3 separate regions of the Homo sapiens genome follow, and all the other regions are linked to region 1. The links are contacts of gene promoters, found by promoter capture Hi-C in blood cells and fetal thymus (Javierre and others, 2016). All regions are on one chromosome and are shown on one strand. The core of a region is centred on a gene start or on the middle of the fragment in contact, and the rest is flanking DNA. Distances in the headings are between cores, read along the strand shown. Region 1 holds the start of WDR49 (WD repeat domain 49). Region 2 overlaps ZBBX (zinc finger B-box domain containing). Region 3 has its middle 3.1 kb from the start of ZBBX.

Region 1 (4,864 bases), core at 1,058-3,557:
TTTTTAGAAAAACTGTCTATGTTCATACAAGCTCCGAATTACCTTCTCTTCTCCTCTTTGGTCCATTAGTTCCTGCTTTTCCAACCGGTAATGTCAAAATAAGTGGTCTGGCCTTTGAAATATTTAACATAAAATAGAAATAAATTAAAACTTGAGGTTGAATTTTCCAGTTTCACTTGGGTTCATTCAAGACTAATCTGCAGTTTGGAAAGAACACCCACCTCTAACCTTCTGAAGCAGTTTCACCAACACATCAACTTTATAATGTAGACTCTCCTAATAGGCCCTAGCATTCAAATTCTTTGTGTTCTTAGCACCGGAACAAAACTGCCACATTTCTGTTCACTATAGAGTCAAAGCTGTCATAATCTGCTGTTATGTTTTACTGAATGTCCTCAAGCTGTCAAAATGTTTGCTATGTCTATCAAAATATGCTAAATTTACTTGGGGCACTGGGCATGAGCAGCAGCAGTGAAATCTTTCAGACAAATGAGGTTGGTTGAATAGCAAATATATGAAGGTTGAAATGAGAAAAGTGTAGGACAGAGCATGTCTTGCTACTAAATATGATAAGTTCTATTATAAAGAAATGATTGATACTATTGGGACATTAATTTATCAATACAGGTGGAACCCAACTTGTTATATTCTTTTGTGGATATCCAAAGATAAAAATGTGTGCCTATTACAGGCTAATATATTGTGAGCTTTTATTATATTTTATTAATTTCCAGGTGGTATTCCAAAATATTTTCTATTTCAAATTAGTATGGATACTCCAAGCACCCACGGACAATCTTAAGAAGGCCCTAGATCATACTTTAGTAAACATAATATAGTAGAAATGTTGGAGGCTCATGACTACCTAAATTCTACGTCATGGAAGAGCACTTCTTTCTACCCATATTTGAAACTAAAAACCACTTTGATGTATGCTGTTCATTATGCATAGCTGCAGAATTCAAAATTCATTGACTAAGAGAGAAGAAAATTATTCATTTACAGTTAAATTCCTATGGTTTATTTTTTATGCAGAGTTAAAATGAAAAATTCTAATTTTGTTTTTATTGGCATTGTTCCAGGATTTACAAAATGAGTGGGAGACTCGTCCCTCATAAGGGATCTTGGGACAACAAAGTGCCAGAATCAGCTTAGAAAAGGAGCTGTGCCACTTAGGGTGAGTGAGACAGGAGGAAATTTTTTGCAAACTGGGTATGCATATTTGCATTTGCTGAGTTCTATGTCCGTATTAAATGCAAGAACAATTATTCCTGGAGGTCACCTTAGAGATCTGGCTTTCTTCACTCACAGCCATAATTTTTTGTTTCCCCAAAATATGTTGATCTCTAAGAAAAAAATTTTTTCCAACAATAAATAGTTCTTTCTTGATAGTAATGAAATTCAGTGAAGCAATTTCAAACTAAAGAATATTATTTGGCCCAAAGAACTGAGGGGCAAAGCTACCAAGCACATTGTGTTAAATCCAGGCCTAACCAATTATTTTTAATTCTCTGCTATAACAATTAAGTGTATTTTTTTAATGCTTAAAGAAAAATATCTCTGTGTTTCATTCTAGGCTCCTTCATGAACAACTCAAACTATCTGGTCAATAAGCTTCACACTTACCTCAAAGGCCTTCTGTATTTTTACAAAGTCACCCACGCTGAGTTGGTTTTCAAGCAGGCCTGTGCCATAGTCTTCAAATGCAGTTACACCTTCTGTTCTCTCAGGACTCTTTGGCCCAAGCTGTGACCCTATGTTTAACTCAAGTACAGCTTTCTGGCAACTCATAATGGCTTCACCTTTTCTCAGTTGCCTTCAACTATTTCTATAAGGATGGATCTTCTTTTTCCTTCAACAGGTGCCTTTGAAAAGAAACTCAACTTAGCAACAGAATTCCAAAATGAAAGTACAAACCTTTCAAGGCATACGATCAGGAGGCAAAATGTTCAAGCTGAGGTAGGAAATGAAAGCCCTCAACCCTCTCACTTATTTGATTCTAGAGTTTATTTTCAAAATTTACAGTTGAATGCTTTTAAAATGGTATTTTTACCCCTTCCTTATACTCTGTTTAACCTGGCTTGATTAAAAATGTGTAAAGCTTTCCCCACATTTATAGTAACTGACACAGAAAACAACTTCCAATCCTCATTTTAAATGCATTAGAAAAGCACCTTCCCAAAAATCTCTTTAACTAACCTTGCTTCCATTAACATGTTGTAGTTTTCAATTCCACTTTCTTGTCTGGAAGAGTTAGATGACAAAGCTGCAGAGTTTCCCTACCAATGAAGTACTTGACTCTGAATGCCACCTTCCCAGCAATGTGGAGTTGTTTGTTTCATCTGTTCTGATCCTTTTGTATGTTTCCTGGCAACCAACACAAAGCCAACTAAAACTTTCCCTTTCACTTCCCCCTCTCCAACTGAAAGTTTAAATATATAATGTAAATGTTGAAATGGTTTTTTTTGAAATAAAAGGACAGTTCATTCCACTCATTTTTTATTAAACGACATCTTGTATTATTTAAAGACAACTTTTACCATTATATAGGATATATATTATGAAACTATATGATTAGTCAAAGAGAAAAGCATGAAATTCTGGAATTTTATGTTTTATACACAGAAAATGTTTTATTTTTATATAAAAGGAATCTGTTTCTTATATTCTTTTTGTCTTAGTTTCTATGTATATAAAATAGAGATGGTTCAAAAAAGCTTCCAACTTGTTGAAAATGTGATAAAAAAACACAGCATAACATAATATGATAAATCTAATGATAAAATTGCTTGCAGTGTCATTACTGGTTCAGCTAATAATAATGAAAAGGAGGAGAAAAAGAAGAAAAATTAACATTTTTTGAGTATTAACCATGTGCCAGGCACTAAAACTTTATGTTCATTGTCTTGTTTAAGCTTCACAACAATCCTACAAGGCAGATGTGATCATTATCCCCATTTTACTGATAAAGAAGCAAAAAGCCGGGCAAGGTGGCTCACGCCTGTAATCCCTGCACTTTGGGAGGCTGAGGCAGGTGGATGGCTTCAGCTCAGGAGTTCGAGAGCAGCCTGGGCAACATGACGAGACATTGTATCTAGTAAAAATACAAAAATAATCAGCCGAGCATGGTGGCGCACACCTGTGATCCCAGCTACTCGGGAGGCTGAGTTAGAAGGATCCCTTGAACCTGGGGGGCAGAGGTTGCAGTGAGCCAAGATTGTGCCACTGCACTCCAGCCTGGGCAACAGAATGAGACCCTGTCTCAAAAAAGAAAAAAAAAAAAAGCAAAGAAAATGCCAAAGGTCACACAAATAGTAACATACGGAAGAGAACAGAATGGCTCCCAAACTTCAGATACTGCATGTATTAGTCTGTTTTCACACTGCTAATGAAGACATACCTGAGACTGGGTAATTTATAAAGGAAAGAGGTTTAATTGACTCATAATTTCACATGGCTGGGGAGGCCTCAAAATCATGACAGAAAGCTAATGAGGGCAAAGTCATGACTTACATGGCAGTAGGCAAGACAGCATGTGCAGGGTAACTCCCATTTATAAAACCATCAGATCTCATGAGACTTATTCACTACCAGGAGAACAGTATGGGGAAACCGCCCCCTTGAGTCAATTATCTCCACCTGGCCACGCCCTTGTCATGTGAGGATTATTACAATTCAAGGTGAGATTTGGGTGGGGACACTGCCCAACTGTATCACTGCACTTTAGATGGATGTGCCCGTTGCACTTTATTTTCACTTCTGTAAACTAAAAAGTTGGCATTACATCTTCTCTAGGGTCTCTTCCGGCTCTAACATTCTCTGAGCTGGTGTTCACTAGAGGCATGGTACAGAACAGAGAGAAGAGCATCCTGTAGGAGTTCCTGTACCCATTATAGAAAAAAATGAAGTTTCATTCATGCTTTCATTTTTTCATCCATCTCTCATTATTCTTTCAAAAAAAACATTTATTAAGAGCCTAATAGGCAGGGCACGGTGGCTCATGCCTGTAATTCCATATTTTGGGAAGCCAAGACAGGCAGATCACTTGAGGTCAGGAGTTCAAGACCAGCCTGGCCAACATGGAGGAACCCCGTCTCTACTAAAAATATAAAAATTAGCTGGGCATGGTGGCAGGCGCCTGTAATCCCAGCTACTTGGGAGGCTGAGGCAGGAGAATCGCTTGAACCTGGGAGGCGGAGGTTGCAGTGAGCCAAGATCACGCCACTGCCCTCCAGCCTGAGTGACAGAGATAGACACTGTCTCTCTCTCTCTCTCTATCTCTCTCTCTCTCTATATATATATATGCCTAATATATGTCAAGTCCTGAATTGTGACCTGGTGCCTGCCATAAGGGCTTTACAGTCTAGTCAGGGCAATTATCCGTCTAGCTCATCTTTAATGCCAATTCCAACCTCTTGTGTTCAGTGTTCCAACACAGTGCTGTGTTCAGAGCATTCTGAAGCCATAGCTAGGCTCAAAGGGAAAGAGTGGCATTATAGATGTGTATATATGTATTGATATGTATCACACACACAGAACGGGGGTGTATTTACCAGATTTGCTTTTCTTCGATAAGTCCTTCTTGTAAGTTAGGAAAACATTTTTAAGCCCTAATACTACAAGTTCCCCTAAGTTATCTTACATGGGAACACGATTTGTCTTCTTATCACCCTAGTTAGTAAGTTAATAATACTTTAAATCAGCTGGATCAGCCCCATAAATGTTTGTAAAATGTTTTATAGTGATATTCTAGAGAGTTGGGCTTAGTTCAGTAGCAGACACTAATGAGGGAAGGGAGAAGAAATAGGAAAAACATTCTGTAAAGATGAACCACGAGAGGTAGGTATCCCACTGGCTGACAATG
Region 2 (4,864 bases), core at 1,492-3,991, 290 kb before region 1:
AAGCTGTAGCTTTGGTGCTTTTCGAACAAAAATTTATTTTTAAAGAATAATATAAAATTAATAGGAGATCATCATTAAAGCATATATGTACCTTTTAATTAATCTAATAGAAATTCATAAAAAAGAAAATAAATTTTAAAAATATATCTAAACCAGTTTTTGAAAACATAATTTGGCTTTTAAACAAAAACCATTATATCTCATTATGAAATTATTTGCTAGTATTCAAATATTGTAAAGGTTTAATACATCTTTTCTATTTCTGCTCTTTCTGAGACACACAGTCTAATATTTGTGTAAGCTGAATCTAAACTGAATTGTGACTAAGCTATTCTGCTTACACTACTATAGAAACCCATATTATTTTATTTGCCCAATTTAGAGAACTGCATGTGTAAGCATCACAGACTTATCCTTCAAAAGTATTATTTGTGATCACTGACTTTCCTAAATATTAGCCAAAAAAAATGAATAAATAAGATTCACTGCTAGATATTTCAAATAAATCATCACTTAAAATTTTGGGATTTTAATATTTTAGGAAGTAAAATACTCTTGCCAATTGAACATGCTTGCCTTGATCTTATTAAAACCAACATTTAAAGTACACAAACGAGAATGAAGGATGGTGTGCATTTATATAGATACTGTCAATTCAGGCCTAGTTTTCAATTTGCAATTTGCATGCTCAATTGCTCAATTTGTACATGAGAATCTGAGAACAATGACTGCCTCTATATCTATGGCTGTAGCAACTGCAGTCATCTGAAAATGTAGGCCTAATTATTCTCAGTGAATCTAGTGGTTTTGCTTCAAAGGGGCAGTTATTTTTCACATTCTTCAAAGTAACTGCTCAGATGCTATGTACTAAACACAGCAGAAAAGAAAATAAGATTGAAATCATCAATTTTTCTATGAACCACACTTTTATTTTTAAATTGCTAATGTTATACAAGTTACAGATAATCTAATCTCATTTTTCATAACCAAATTATCCAGTATGACTACCTTAATGATACATCTGAATTGAAACATGATCAGTGTGGTTGTAGGCTACCCTGGATGGAATGGATAGATATGCCCAAGCAAAATGAACCCATTATTAGGGAAATTGTATAATTTGTTTTTATTATTATGAATAATATTGTTCTGCTCTATGAATACAGCCATATTTATTTCAAGTGATTCAAACTGCATAAAAATATTTCAGTGAACAAACCTCTAGCTGCTATTTTTAGACAAATAGAATTTCCTCATAGGTCTGATTTTTATCTGTTAGGGAAAGGGTTGGAGGTAGGGTTGAACCAAGGATACACATGCTTACACAAACACACATATACACATATATGCGCATGTACATATACATATATAATACATGCATATGTATATATACATATAGATAGAAAGATGGATATCTGCATATGTTTGTATATACAAATGTCAGGAACTTAATATACTAAAGCCTATGCCTTATTAACATGCTGACTCCTCCACCAGTAGGTATTGAAGGGGTGCTATCAGGGGCCAGGAAAGCTTAGTGGATTTACCACACAGACATATTATCTATGCCACTGGGGTCAGAATATGCTGTCATCATCAGCCTCCCTGGCATTCACAAATACCTCCGAACTCCCACCAATGCCTTCATCTGCCACACTGAGCCCAAACTTCTCCTACAGTCATCTTTCAGACGTTCTCACTGTCAACCCAGTTAGCTACTGAAACTTCGCAATTCTGTACTAATTGTCCTTCCTTCCAAGCCCCCACTGCCATTCCGTGGATCTTCTATTAAATAGTCATTTATGTATCTTATGCTTTAAACCTTTCCCAAAAATGTTTCATCAAAAGTTTACATCAACTGAAAGCCACCTTTGCTTAGACACAATCTTCACCAAAGCACTTCCCACAGGACCTAGCCCCTTTCCACTTCCTTTCACATACCAGGAAAGAGAAAATTTTTCTATTTGCTCTTCAGTGCTGTTTCCAGAATATTATTGTGCTATCATGATTCAGCAAAGGTGCCTCTACTATAGGTCCCCACCATCCACTTATTGCTTGTGTCAATATCTAGGGTCTCTTCCACCTGAACTTCAGCAACCTGCTCGGTATTTCTCTCCATCACATTTCTGCTTGACAGTCTTAGAGACTTCAATGCACATGTTCACCTGACATCCTGGTTTGAAGACCCTCCAACATGCTGGCTACTGTGAACATCTAAATGCCTCTTCAGCCACCTCACCATTATAACCAAATCTGGCATGTAAGCAGCATTCTGAATAGCCACACCTTCAAAATCTCAGACTCTAAAGTTTTTCAGTGCCAACCTCAATCACCTTATCTCTTCCTTCTGATGCCTCCAATATCTATGTACCACTGTGATAAAAATAATACTATAGAGCCTCCTACAAATCCATGCTGATCAGCCTCAATGGGCTATATGGCTCTTTGGCAATCCATTTACTCATTTGCTGCTAATCCCCAACCACAATTCCCACAGTGGCTACTCCAAACCTCTTCATTCCCAAGAACTCAAATTCATCCCATTTCCCTTAATTCACCTGAGCAGACGATATTGTCTTCAACTGTCCTAAGAAAGTTGAGGTCTTCCCATTAAAATCTTTCAGTGTCCCACCTCACCACTTGTCAAAAACAATCTCTAAAATTTATTTTCATTGCCACCTGTTTTTTCTTCCACCTTTCTTGTCTCACACACACACAAAAAATATGTCTTCCTTTCCTTGGTGAAGGCCTCTTTAATGGACTACCTCTTCAAAGACCACACACCCAGCAACTGGCACCTCTTTCATCTACATTTTGACTCTTTCCTCTACTAGGATGTCCATCTTTCATTCTACAAACTGGCCCACATCATCTTGACAATTCTAGAAAAGAATATAATAAAGTCTTTCCTTGATTCTATTAAACCCTTGAAAGGTCACCAACTGCTTTCATGCTGGCTGCAACAATAGTCTTTACTCATTGCTTCCCACCGTTTTCTTTTCAACCAATTGAAATCTACTCTCTTATTTAATATTGACACAATCATCAAATTTAGGTCTTTTAAATATTTTCATTATCCAGAAATAGACATTTTAATGTAATGTTTAGGTATCATTACAAAGTGGTTTCACATATTTCAAGAGTTTTTGACATTGCTCAAAAGCTCTTTGAAGTGGTTAGTAGGTATTATTATGCAAGTTTACAAGTGTAGTAATAGAGGCTTGGAAAGGTTAAGTGAATGTTAATCTATATAATCTAATACAGAGTTTCTAGACCTCAGCATCACTGACATTTGGGGCCGAATAATTCTTTGTTGTGGGGATTGTCAAGTGCATTGTAGGATGTTTAGCAGCACCCCTGGCCCTTACTCACTATATATCTTTAGCAAAAAAAAAAAATACGCAAAAACAACAACAACAACAAAAATATACCTCTCAATGTTAACAACTGAAAATGTCTCCAGACTTTGTCAAATGTCTCCTGGGAAGCAAAATTGCCCCCTTCAGAAACACTAGTCTAAATAGATACTCAAAACTTTTTTCACTACACAATATATTGGACATTATTGACTTCATATTTTCCAAAAATGTTCTCCTTTACTTTCGTCCTTATAACATTGAACTACTTCGATTTTACTTCGCCATTCTTTTTCTTCTCAATCTCTCTTCACTAGAGAGCTGGCAAATTATCTTAGACAAGCCTGAGAGCTTACATGTCAAATCTTGGCCCTGACTTTTGACCTTGAGTGAGTTATTTAGTTTTTTTTTATATTAAGTTATTTCATCTGTGAAACTGGAATAATAATAACATCCTCTTAGGAGTGATATAAGCACTTAATGAGATAAGAAAGGAAAAGAAGCGAAACTGTTGACTGGTATTAAAACTTATTGAGCTTATTGAGTGAATATTAAAGTTCTCTTTGCCAATATAGTTTACACACTGGCTTTCTTTAAGCTTTATTCTTTACACCTCTCTATGTTTTACAAATCCTAGGGAGTACATTTACTCCCTTAACTTCAACTATCACTTGAAAATTCAAACAAAACTCTAAATGTATACCCCGTACTTTTCTAAGTCCTTTCTTTATGCTGTCTCTTAGTCAATCCAGCCTGTAATATCAATTATATGTTTGACTTCCTCCTCTCCTTTCTCACTGTTTTATGGTTCCATATTTTTCTTTATATATGTTTTCCTACCCTTTTAATTCAGCCTCCTTTCATCTGACCTCTAGATTATTTTAATAGTCTTACAAATAGCCTGTTTCTAGTGAGATAAGTTTTTTTTAAACGTTGGGGTCAAAACTTTTATAATTGATTTTTCCCTAAGATAGGGAATGACACCAGAGAATAAAACGCTTTCTCAAAGCCAAAAACTTTAGAAGCGCCAAGTAAGATCTTTGTAGATTCCAACTGACCCAATGAAAGTTTAATGATAGGTACGTAAAAAATAAAAACTGTGTAAGCTAATACTTACAAAGTCACGAATCTTGCACTAAAGAATCCAGAAGCAAAATTGTTTTCTTTATGTAAAGACACTTATCTGATTTTCATCTTAAATATAATATTATATTTTATAGCACACAGTAAAGGAGCAGCAATTCTATAGCTGGGAAACTGAAAAGTATTTTTTTCTTGAGTATCTTTACACATGGAATCAACAGTATATGAATAATAAATTATTATTGAAGCAGAATATAAAACATTAAACTAATGTGATATAAAAGTAGGAATAAAGTCTCTCATTTGTTATATTAAATAACAATAGCTTTCACCTTAGTTTAGAAGTATTTAGTTCTATTTTATATACTTTAAACCAGATCCACACTGAATGGAAAAATTCAGTTTGGGATGTGGGAAAATTCACT
Region 3 (4,864 bases), core at 1,560-4,059, 270 kb before region 1:
CAAAGCTGCACCTGTAGTGAATTTATCTTTGGCTTCCTAAATATGCTGTTTTTTATCTCCCTTTTTAAATACTGCAAGTAGGATGTGTGGTTGGTACTGCACTGTATAGGCTTCTATGCTTAACCACATTGCATCTGTCTCGGTACCAGACTAACAATCCTAACTATTACAGTTAATGTACTAATCTTTACACCATTACTTTTGACATTACTATGCCTGCCAATACCCATTTAAAAAAAAATAATGATTTCACTTGGCATATTCAATTATATAAGATTACAACCACTATGGATAAGAGAAGACAATGGTAGTCTTCTGGTTATAAGTCTGGATTTTGGAGTCAGGCAGATTCAAGATTGAGTGCCAGTACTGCCACAACTTACCTGCTGTGTGACCATGAGCAAGTAACAATGCTCAGTCTAACTGCTTAAATGAGATAACAGTACAGTTAGTCCATACGTAATGTAGTATGGAAGAGTAAATGAAACAATAAATATTAAGTATTTAGCTCTAAGCCAGGCCCATATTGAGTGCTTAATAAACAGTAAGAAACAGTGGTGCTGGTGTGGCTATGATGGTTGCTATTAACGTGTTCATGGTATAACTTTACCACGTCCTTCCTTTAACTTTAATACAAGAACTAGTTTCAGGTGGATGTGCGATACTACTGGTTTTCTTGCACAGACTATTTCCCATACAGGCGCGCTCTTCAAATTACCAAAGATATTTTCAGCTTTCGTCCATTTACTGATCTATTCATTTATTTATTTATTCCACAAATATTTATTGAAAGTCCATTTCCTAGATCCCAAAAATACTGGAGTGAAGAAATCGTCAAAGCCCCTCCTATTTTCAAATATATTTTAACAGGAGCAGAAAGGCAATAAACAAGTATAAATGCATGTCAGCTGCTATGAAGAAAACTAAAGCCAAATAAAGAAATAGAAACTAATTGAGTTCTGTTTTAGGGTAGATGGCCAGGGAAGTATCTGAATGCAAGGAAAGAGAAAGACATGGGCCACTAGAGGAAGAAACAGTCCAGAGAGAACAGTAAACACATGTCAATTATGTCCCAGTAAAGATTATTTTGCAAATAACTTCTCCTCACTTCTACAAAGGACTTTTACTCCAAAAAATGATTCTTACAATGCATTTACTTACACAATAGTAAAATTAAACTCATAAAAATAATGTATAAAGTATTCTTGCACTTTTTGAAAGCATTAAAAGAACATTATCTTATATTTAGAAAAATAGCTTATGCACAGTTATGAAAAGGCAAAGCAGAGACAAAAACTAAGCCTATGCTAAGTCACATAGTAAAATAAAAAGTATGAAGTGCTTGTCTTTCAGAATGATGATTAGTGACAAAATGAAATGAAACATGTCAAAACAATTACAGCTCTAGAGAGATGATATTCTCTCCACTGAAGTAAAATGCGTTTAACTGGCACACCAGCAATGCCGCACACAGTTTACCACAACTATATCAAGAGCACAGTATTCCTGAGGGTTTTTCCAAACTCATGCTTCTTTGTGCCACAGTGGAGACAAGGTTTGAATACAAGTTTTCTGAACTGGAGATATTCAATTTAAAGAGATAAAAATTACCGGCAATGCAGAAATTAAGAGCACAGATTTACATGACTCATTTTACTAAGCTTGAAATAAGGGTCAGGGACTGTAAACAAGCATTATCCAAAACTTAGAAATAAGGTAAAGCCAAAAACAGCATGTCTTTTCAATGCCATACTAGAATACTGTTTAAGATAATCTGAGCATTACATGATTTTCTAAAAAAAAGTGTTGCTTTTCTTATCATTAACTATTGATAAAGTCTCTGTGTAATGTTGTATGTTTATTTGAAGATTTTTTCACCTGCATTTTTCATATCATTTGTATCTGGATATGTAAATAATGTCTTTCCTTTAAATAAAATAATTTCAAAGCTAATGGTTTTATTGCACTATACAACTTTAACCAGTTTTGTATCTAACCTAGAAATCTCATACTAATATTTTATCTCAATTCCTATATACAGTCAGCTACCAAATTTTCTTTGAACCAGCTTTACCATTCTAATAATTCCGTCCTTAATGAATTAAACTGTATCACATGTATATTCTCTACTTAAAGAATATCTTGTTTTTAAGTATTGCAATTATATTTTGATAATACCAAACCTTTGGAAGAAAATGGGACAAATATCATATCTGCAGCTTTCCAGAAGTATTCTCTCAATTTCCATTTGCTCTTTGGCCCTTCAGATTCTTTTATAGGCAAAAGTTTGTGGGCATTTCAAGGTAGCAAAACCAAATTCCTACCATCTCCTTTTTTACAAGCCCTGAAATGTGGTTTTACTTTTACATGAAGCATCTACTTTCTTTATGCCTTGGTAAATGCTAAATATAACATCCTATTACATATGTATGGGGTTTTTCAACTTGTCAAGAAAACTGAGCTTTAGAGACAACATAAAATTACAAAAAATCCTTAGCAAAAACCAAATTAGTATGATATAAATATATTTAAATGCATCCGAATGGCTAAACTTGAGGAAGAATAAAAAGAAACTTAGAGTTAAGAGGTGACATTGGCCTTTTATAATTTTTCTCGGCTTTGTAATTTCTGCCTATCATCCATGACACAGAATTTCTAAGCAAATAAATTTTCATAACACAAGGCAATTATTACTGATGCTTCACAAATGGAGGAGAATCATCAGGGCCTATGATAAATTTTCGATTCCTGCAATGTGCAGTGTCTTCCAAATTGAAAAATAAATGTATAGCCTTGTTGAATGAGCATAGTTAAATTTAATCAACATTTATTCAACACCTGTTCTATTCCAGGCACGGCCCTAAGATAGGTACAAAGGTGAACAAAGACACCGTCTCTGTCCTTGAGTAATTCAAGTGAGAGTTTGCAACTAATTAATATGTAATGTATTAAGTACTACGTTCAAAAAGAATGGGAGCATTACATGTTTGTGGCATGGGCAGAATTTCTAGTTGGTTCAAACATAGTATATGTGGCAAAAAGATAAGAATGAAAAGTTGTGCTAGGAGCACATTAAAAAGCACTTTGAATGTTACCCTATTCACAATGGAAACTGTGAAATTTTCTTTTCTTCTCTCCTCTTAATACCCTCAAATAATTTTTAAAGCAGATCTTTAAGCATCTCAGTATGTGTATAGCCGCATCTTTCAAGGGTAATTCTGGTGGCAATGTAAAAATAGAGCAAGTGGAAAAGAGGAGGACAAGAGACACTTTTAAAATATGGTTATATTAGTCCAAGATAGAAATAATAAGTCTTGAATAAATCAAGGCAGAGGGCAGAGGCCAAGTGAAACAGTTTCAAAGGATTTTGTAAACTCTCAATAGGGCTTGGAAAGTACAGATACATGGTTAGCTAGGAATATGGAACAGAGCTGCTTGTCTCTACATTTGATAGCTTGGTAAATAAGTAGATGGTACTGATAACCAGCCGTGGAAGAGCAAGAGAATAAATAAGCTCACAGAGAGTGGGGTCAAGAAGGCAGGGCAGACTGAGTTTTTACTTTTGCAATAGCAGTAGGGAGGAATACAAAAATATGACATAGCTCTAGTTACTTAGGAGACAACCATATATATTAGGTTACCATCAGCATGTAATCAGATAGTAACCAGAGCTGAAGGAAAAGTTTAAATTGTCCAAGGATTTCTCGGAGAAACTACAGAAGACATAGTATTGAGAGAGGCATTCATTCAGCATTCCTAAAATAGACCAATATAAAACCCATATGTGACCTTCTTTATCCAGCAGTGTTTTTACTGCAGGGTCTCTGCAAATGAGGTTGGCAACCTGAATGAATTTATTCCTGTAATCATCTATTCTTCTCAGTGTTCTCATGCATTTACTGCAGACAAGCATGCACTACATCAGCTGGTAAAAAAGAAGAACTAGCACTGGTCATTGAAGCTTGCATTGCCAATATCAACATTCCTAATACAAAACTTTTTAAATTGTTGGTGTATATATGGGTCCAGAGAAGGTGAAGACACAATTCACATGATGGAGTCTTTAGAAAGTCAGTTTCAAAAAACAGAACACTTTATTTGAACATAAATAACATTATTTTCACTATAACCTCAATTTAATACAATCATGTGTCTCTTAATGATGAGGATATGTTCTAAGAAATATGTGATTAGGTTATTTTGTCATTGTACAAACATCAAAGAGTGAACTGACACAAACCTAGATGTTATACACCTAGGCTATTTGGTATAGCCTATTGCTTCTAGACTATAAGCCCTTATAGCATGCTACTGTACTGAATACTATACACAACTCTAACACAATGGTCAGTATTTGTGTATCTAAGCATATGTAAACACAGAAAAAGGACTGCCAAAATGCAGTATAAAAGACAAAAAAAATGGAATACCTATATAGGGCACTTACCGTAATTAGAGTTGGCAGAACTGGAAGTTGCTTTGGATGAGTGAGTAGGTACTATAGACTTTATAAACACTATAAACTTAGGCTACCCTAAATTTTTTTTAAAAATTTCATTCTTTTAATATAAATTAGCCTTACCTTCCTGTAACTTTACTTTATAAACTTATAATTTTTTTAAACTTTTTGACCCTTTTGTAATGACAACTCAAAACAAACACATCGTACAGATGTACACAAAATTTTTTTTCCTTATATACTTATCTATAAGCCTTTTTCTATTTATTCCTTCTAATTTTAAAACTGTTTTTGTTAAAAACTAAGACACAAACACATGTATTACCCAAGCCCTACACAGAGTCAGGATCATCAAGACATCCCCAGGCGATAAGTAATTTTTCAGCTCCATTATAATCATATGGG

What was found. The method cuts DNA at HindIII sites, captures the fragments that hold promoters and counts their contacts. A CHiCAGO score of 5 or more calls a contact.
Region 2: a fragment that was not itself captured here is called in contact with the fragment with the promoter of WDR49 in region 1 in 1 of 17 cell types (monocytes); the score reaches 6.9 in monocytes.
Region 3: a contact is called between a fragment that was not itself captured here and the fragment with the promoter of WDR49 in region 1, in 8 of 17 cell types (monocytes, naive B cells, M2 macrophages and 5 more). The highest score is 20.6, in monocytes.

The regions. Positions count from the first base shown.
Region 1 is chr3:167,651,635-167,656,498 of GRCh38, forward strand. WDR49 (WD repeat domain 49) reads right to left here and starts at 2,308. Exons shown (of 19, transcript NM_001366157.1): 1 at 2,200-2,308; 2 at 1,627-1,865. The coding sequence starts at 1,791. RefSeq lists enhancers at 1,522-2,045, 2,046-2,568. The HindIII fragment of the contact is 616 bases long and covers 2,100-2,715 here.
Region 2 is chr3:167,360,801-167,365,664 of GRCh38, forward strand. All of the region lies in intron 6 of ZBBX (zinc finger B-box domain containing), which reads right to left. Among named protein-coding and RNA genes, the nearest start is that of ZBBX, 17 kb to the right of the region's middle. The HindIII fragment of the contact is 2,421 bases long and covers 1,532-3,952 here.
Region 3 is chr3:167,380,941-167,385,804 of GRCh38, forward strand. It overlaps a transcript of ZBBX not described here. Among named protein-coding and RNA genes, the nearest start is that of ZBBX, 3.1 kb to the left of the region's middle. The HindIII fragment of the contact is 2,300 bases long and covers 1,660-3,959 here.